Linked DNA regions of Homo sapiens: region 1 is linked to region 2. The links are contacts of gene promoters, found by promoter capture Hi-C in human tissues and cell types (Jung and others, 2019). All regions are on one chromosome and are shown on one strand. The core of a region is centred on a gene start or on the middle of the fragment in contact, and the rest is flanking DNA. Distances in the headings are between cores, read along the strand shown.

Region 1 (3,242 bases), core at 115-2,614, 1.0 Mb after region 2:
GCAGAACAGTGTGTATGGAATGCTCCTTTTTGTGCCAAAGAAAAAAGGGAGAGGAAAATGTGTCTGTGTTGCCTATATCTATATCTGCTATCTCTGGCAAACAAGCAAGAAACGGGAGACTCAGGCGGGTGAACCAGGCACCGGGGAAGTCTGTAGGAGCCTTTTCACTGGGTCCTATTCTGTTTCTTCTGAATTCTGGACAATGTGCAACAAGTTGTCTAGTCAATACTATATACAATAAAGGGTTGGCATAAAGCCAAAACCCGGCAAAACTGATCTATGGCGTCAGAAGCCAGGACAGTGACTGCCCTTGGACCACAGTGATGGAAACGACGACGGCGGGAGATCCTGGGATGTGGCGCATGTTTGACTTTTTTCTTTGGATACTTGTTTACACCAGGGTGCTCCCTTTATAAATATTTATTTAAGCTGTGTATTTGCAAACCGTTCGATTTTCTGCGTTTGTGGTATTATTCCAGAAAAAGTGTTCAAAATGCAAAATACAAAGATGGCTTCAGGCCCCCGCCGTGCGGTTGAACTGGAGGCAAAAGGCCAGAGAGCAGGAGGTCGGCGCTGGGGCCCAGTGGGACAGGGGAGAGTCAGGAAGGGGCAGCTGGGACGGTGGGGAAAGTCGGGGAGAAAGGCCCCCAGTTTCTGGTCGAGCGAGGGGCATGATCTGAAGATTCATAGGGGATCCCGGGGAGGGGAACTGGTTTTTGGGAGATGAAAAATTGGGGTGAGGGTGGGTGTGTGAGAGAGAGAGATGTGAAGGGGAGGTCTGGGCTGGAGAGGGTTGGGCGTGTCCTGCGGAACGAGGAGAGATTCAGCCTGGGTGGAGGGTACCCAAGGCCAAAGGGGGCGTGGCTGGAGGTGGGCGGCAACAGGGGGCGGGGTAGGGCCGTTGATTTCCCCACCCGGTCTCGGAAACCCGGCCTTGGAGCCCGGACTTCCTGGCTGTGTGACCTTGGGCAAGTTTCTCTTTGTCTTAGCCTCAGTTTTCTCGTCGGAGAAATGGGGATTAAACCTGCCCACCCCCCAGCGCTGTTACAGAGGCGGCAGGCGCGACCCGGGGACGCTTCCAATCTCTGGCCAGCCAATTCTGGCGGGGCCAGGTGGAGTCCTCCTTCTGGTCCTGTGACCTTGGCCCGGGACGCCCAGGCAGAGCCTCAGTTTCCCCATCTGCTAGGCGGTAAGGTCGGTCTCCAAATAGCGCCAGCAGCGAGAGAGGACTTACCCGGAAGGTGCCGGGTTCGAGCCCGGAACGGCCCCTCTGCAGGTGAGGCGGGGGCACCCTCACCTCTCGGCTCTCGGACGGCCACCGCTGAGGCCTCTTGCGGGCTTCCCAGGGCTGGTTACCGTTTCGTTAGGGCTGGACACGTGGCCCACCCCCTGCACCGTCCGTTTTCCGCCCACTTGGGCCCAGCCGTCCAATCGACACTCATCATGCTCTGCCTCGCCGCTCTCTCCGGCCAATCCGCATGTGCCACTGCCTCTGCCCGCAATCGGCGCTCACCAACTCACCCCGCCCCCTGCCTCTCAACCAATCCGCATATGCAGCTGCTTTGCTCCCGCCCCAGGGGGGGCGGTGCCGGCAAGGCTGTCAGTCTCAAGAAAATGATTAGCTCGCAAAGGCGCCGTGGGGGCGGGGCAGCAGGTCGTTCTGCCAATGGAGAGCCGTAGAGGGCGTGAGTGGCGGCCGACGGGGCGGAGTCGCGCGGTGGTCTCCGAAGGCTCAGACTCTGGCTGGAGAGAGGGCGTCTCGGCCGGCCCCATTGCACAGAGCAGACCGCCGAGGCCGGGAGAGAGAGAGAGGGGTCTTACCTAGAGTAGAGGCATGTCTGCGGTTCGAAACCTGGCCCTCTCTCAAGAAACGGAGGCTTACAAAGATACCCAAGCACTTTCCAGGAAGGGGCTGGCTGAGGGAGCGATCAAGTGAGGAATTTGACGCCCCCCTGTCCTTTGCGCTCTGTGCTGCCTCAGTTTCCCCATCTGTACAGCACCTGCCTCCTCGGGTGGTGTTTAGAATAATTTAGACTCTGTGCTTGGAAATGGAGGTTGAGAGAAAGAGAGAATTTCCTATCTGTCTTGGAATAAATCCAAACTCCTCCCAATTCATGGTCGGCCTTCCTGGTCCGTGCAGACCTCGCCTCTCACCACTCCCCCTGCTCACTCCGCTCCAGCCACAGGGGTCTCCTCTTGCTCTTCCCTCAATGTCCCACCGCAGGGCCTTTGCACGTGTGCTGCCTCAGCCTGGAATCCTAGGACTCCCCATGGCCCAACCTTCCAGGCTTTCAAAGCCTTTCCTGACCACCTGGTGTCAGGTAGCCCTTCCATCAGGTCGCTGTTTTTAATTTTTTTGAAACATCAAAAAAAAGAAAAAAATTGCTCTATCACCCAGGCTGGAGTACCATGGTACGATCACAGCTTGCTGCAGCCTCAACCTCCCGGGCTCAAGCGATCCTCCCACCTCAGCCTCCTGAGTAGCTGGGACCACAGGTATGCGCCACCACACCTGACTAATTTTTTAATTTTTTTGTAAAGATGGAGGTCTCACTCTGTTGCCCAGGCTGGTTTTGAACTCCTGGGCTCAAGTGATCCGCCTGCCTTGGCCTCCCAGAGTGCTGCGATTACAGGTGTGAGCCGCCGCACCCGGCCTTGTGTTTTATTTTCTTTTCAGCACTAACTCCAATCTGAATTGGAAATGAATCTTGCTTTTTGAAAAATGCATGGATATACTCTTTTATTGTCTGTTCCCCGCCAAAACACACACATGCACACAGAACAGGGAGCTCCCTGAGGCAGGGGTCCCGTCTGCCTCGTTCACAGCTGAATCCTCAAGTCCTAGACCTGGGCCTGGCCCATAGTAGGCGCTCGATACATCTTTGGGAATAAATGACAGGAGAGCAGACATTAGGCAGAGGTGAGCCTGGGTGAGAGTGAGGGGTGGATGCCCAGATGGGGCTAGGCAGAAGGAAGGGGGAAGGCAGGAAAGCAAGAAGAGGTGGAGGTGGGGCCCCTGGGCCCAGGAGGAGACCCCTGAGGCAGTGGTCTGAAGTGGGGGTCTGGGTTGGTTTATTTTCCCAGGGGCTGCCAGGAAGGGAGTGGACAGGTTGGGGGCTCCTGGAGAGGGCTGTAGAGCCGTCGTGGAGGGGCCTCTGGCTTGTCCTGGGTTCTGGGCTGGGTTGTGATTGGCCTCATGGGGAGCTGGTCCCCCAACCCTCGGGGATCCCCTGAGAATCCCA
Region 2 (3,307 bases), core at 587-3,086:
CTATCTACAAGAAACCCACCCTAAATACAACAGGTAAAAGGAAGCTAAATGGAACGTGGGTCCTGGCTTGTACCCTGGCATGTAAAGAAAACATTGGAGGAAAAGGTGGTGAAATCCCAGTAAAGTCTGGGTTTTAGTTACAGTAATGCATCATGTCAGTATCTACAACAAACCACTTTTGTTGGTGCTTGTGATGACAGCATCAGAAGAAAGTGGGCATAAAACATGGTGGACTGCTTATGATCTTTGCAACTTTTCTTTTTTTTTTTTTTGAGACAAGAATTTCACTCTTGTTGCCCAGGCTGGAGTGCAATGGTGTAACCTCGGCTCACTGCAACCTTGGCCTCCTGGGTTCAAGCGATTCTCCTGCCTCAGCCTCCCGAGTAGCCGGGATTACAGGTGCACGCGCCACCACGCCCAGCTAATTTCTGTATTTTTAGTAGAGACGGGACTTCACCATGTTGGCCAGGCTGATCTTGAACTCCTGACCCCAGGTGATCCACCCATCTCGGCCTCCCAAAGTGTTGGGATTACAGGCGTGAGCCAGCGCGCCCGGTCTTTGCAACGTTTTGAATAAATCCAAAATTATTCCAGAACAAAAAGCTTAGTACCAAAAAGAAAACAAAAACAAAAACAAAACAAACCCCCCCCCCCCCACAGAGTAAAATAACGGAAAAAGATCTACTATGCTAGCACTAACAAAATAATACGTAGTTATGAAAATGGTATGTATTTTTCAAGCTAGACGTTCATAATGGTAGAACATGAGGAGGAAAACTGCCTCTTAAATCCCACCACTTACTGTGACACAGTGACCGGTCCCTGCAGCGGACTGGATAGTTGTATCAGAGTCCTGGACGGAAACAGATGGCACTCAAAAGGTGGCGCGCAGTTCAGAGAAATGCCTATGTACGGATTTGGTCCAATGCCTCAGCCTGACCTCAGGGACCTTCGGGGGTCTGCTCCGCGCCCACCCTTACACATCTGTGACCCCACACACTTCCACCCCAGCGCCACTGCCAACAGCTACACCCATCCCCCTCCAACCGCGTCAGCTTCCAGCCTCGGTCCATCTGAACTCGCCGTGCCCCCTCCCCTGCGCCCTTCCAGATTCATTTGCTAGGGAAGCCCGCTCTTCCGGGTGGAGCTGTTCCTCATCCCCTTTCTTTATCATTCTCTCCCCAGGGCTTCCACATCACCGTGCTGTGGACAATCCCGGAACTCCTGTCACGCCAGTTTACATTTAGGAACAGTAATGGCTCCCACTGACTCAGTCAAAACAAGGCTGCGGCCGGGCACGGTGGCTCACGCCCGTAATCCCAGCACTTTGGGAAGCCGAGACGGAGGGATCACGAGGTCAGGAGTTCGAGAACAGCCTGGCCGACATGGTGAAACCCCGTCTTTACTAAAAACACAAAAATTAGCCGGGCATAGTGGCGCGCGCCTGTAATCCCAGCTACTCCGGAGGCTGAGGCAGAATTGTTTGAACCCAGGAGGCGGAGGTTGCAGTGAGCAGAGATCACGCCACTGTACTCTATCGTGGGCGACGACAGAGCAAGAGCAAGACTCCGTCTCCGAGAACAACAACAACAGCAACAAGAAAACAACAATAAAAAAAATAAGGCTGCGTGGGAGGCAGAAAGAGCTAATGCGGCCACGCTTGTCTCCTCGGGGCCACCGTCCCCACCCAGACTTCCGGTCTGCCTTAAAATGTTCATGCGTAAGTGCGTGGGCAGGAAGGCGGGCTCAAGCGCAGCTCGTGGCGTTCATTGGCTGTGCAGGGCCGAGGGAGGCGGTGCAAGGCCGCCGCGTGACGTCAGGACGCCGCGGTCAGGACGTCGAAGCCAAAGAAGACCAGAGCCAGCCGGGTGGCACAGCGGTGTCGTGGCCGTGTTGCTGATCGCCTGGGTGGTTGTTGGCGTGTCCCTGCAGCGAAGGATCCTGGTTGGTAAGGGGAGCGGCAGGCGAGCAGGCGGGCGGGGATAGCATCTCCTTTTGGTCTTGCGCCCCGCGAGCCCCGAGGCCTTCTCGGCCGTCGCAGCAGCAGACGCCGCGCGCGAGCGTCGACAGGGTGTGGCGGCGCAGGGGCAGCCACTGCGCCTGCGCACCGGGCCTGGGGCCGCGCGTTCGGGCACTAGCGCGCGTGCGCCGTCGTCTTCTAATTTCCGTTCCTCTCCCTTGGAGTTCTCGGGGCCCCGGGGCGCCCCTCACTCGCCGTTGACCGGGTGTTGCCCCGGGCGACGGGCGGCTCCTGCGCGTCTTTCTGGGGCGTGGTGCGCAGGCGCGGCCTGGGCAGTGGCTCCGTGGCTAGTCGTGGGGATCCGAGCGGCCTCCTCCACCCGGCGTCCTCCTTTGCCTTCGCCCAGCCTGCGGGACGGCCAGGTGCTCCCGGGACCTCAGGCCTCGCGTCTGATGCCTGTCTCTGTTCTTGAGACCCGTCCGGGAGTCCTCTGTCCAGCCCCCAACTCCTGACCTTACCTCTAATCTCCCTTCTGCCCTGGGGCTCCTCTTCCTGTGTCCCCGCCACGATCCCTCGTCTCCACCCACGCCCTGTGTCCTGTTTAAGTTAAGCCTTTGCGTTTCTAGGGCTTTTCCCCAGCTCCAGACTCCCGTTCCTATCCCGTCAACTCGTGGGAATTCCGGTTCTCCTGCGGGATTAATTATCCTACTTATCAGTTACTCCCTCTCGGGAGTTTAGGCTCCTGAATCCTTGCTCCGGAGACACTCCACTTTTCTTCCAATTCTCTCTGTACCCCACTCTTAATTCGTTGAACATGTTTTGGGTCTTCTTTGGCATTCCCAAAGCTTTATGTCCAGACACCCAACCACGGTGATCCCTTTTCTCTCCCAGCCCTACCCCTGCTTCCGGGAACCTCCCGTGGAAGCAGGCAGGGGTAGTCCCACTGAGGACTCCCACGTAGGTCTCTTTACTGCCCTTCGGAGACCTTTTTGAAATCAGTCTGTCAGTGCTAAGAACCCATTTCTTCACGTTGGGGTTCACGTTGGCATTCTCAGGAACGCTCAACGACCACTTGCTTCCAGGGTTAACTTCCGGAAAATCCCCTTTTCCTCTCAAAATTTTCTTCTCTTCTCCAATATTCTTCCAGCCCCCTCGATGCTCCCTGAAAGGCCTCCCTTTTCACAGAGTTCTCGGAAACCTTTCCACCCTCTCAGCCTTAAGGGTTCCCTCAGACTCTTCTCATTATAGCATCCATCCTCTTGGTTCAGGTTCCTTTCACAACCCGTACTCCCTAGCTTTTTTTTTTTTTTTTTTTTTGAGACAGAGTTTCGCTCTTGTTGCCCAGGC

Evidence for each region. Contacts are between HindIII fragments. The study calls those that stand out against the background at their distance.
Region 1: a contact is called between the fragment with the promoter of ISOC2 here and the fragment with the promoter of LENG8 in region 2, in 1 of the 25 tissues and cell types used here (mesenchymal stem cells).

Annotation. Positions count from the first base shown.
Region 1 is chr19:55,460,278-55,463,519 of GRCh38, forward strand. It overlaps ISOC2 (isochorismatase domain containing 2), which reads right to left and starts at 1,365. Exons shown (of 6, transcript NM_001136201.2): 1 at 1,235-1,365. It overlaps C19orf85 (chromosome 19 open reading frame 85), which reads right to left. Exons shown (of 2, transcript NM_001386794.1): 2 at 2,724-3,242. The coding sequence ends at 3,195. RefSeq lists an enhancer at 2,750-3,242. The HindIII fragment of the contact is 25,257 bases long and covers 1-3,242 here.
Region 2 is chr19:54,447,363-54,450,669 of GRCh38, forward strand. LENG8 (leukocyte receptor cluster member 8) reads left to right here and starts at 1,837. Exons shown (of 16, transcript NM_052925.4): 1 at 1,837-1,948. LENG8-AS1 (LENG8 antisense RNA 1) reads right to left here and starts at 1,676. Exons shown (of 3, transcript NR_126418.1): 1 at 1,200-1,676; 2 at 803-853. RefSeq lists an enhancer at 1,587-2,494. The HindIII fragment of the contact is 4,932 bases long and covers 1-3,307 here.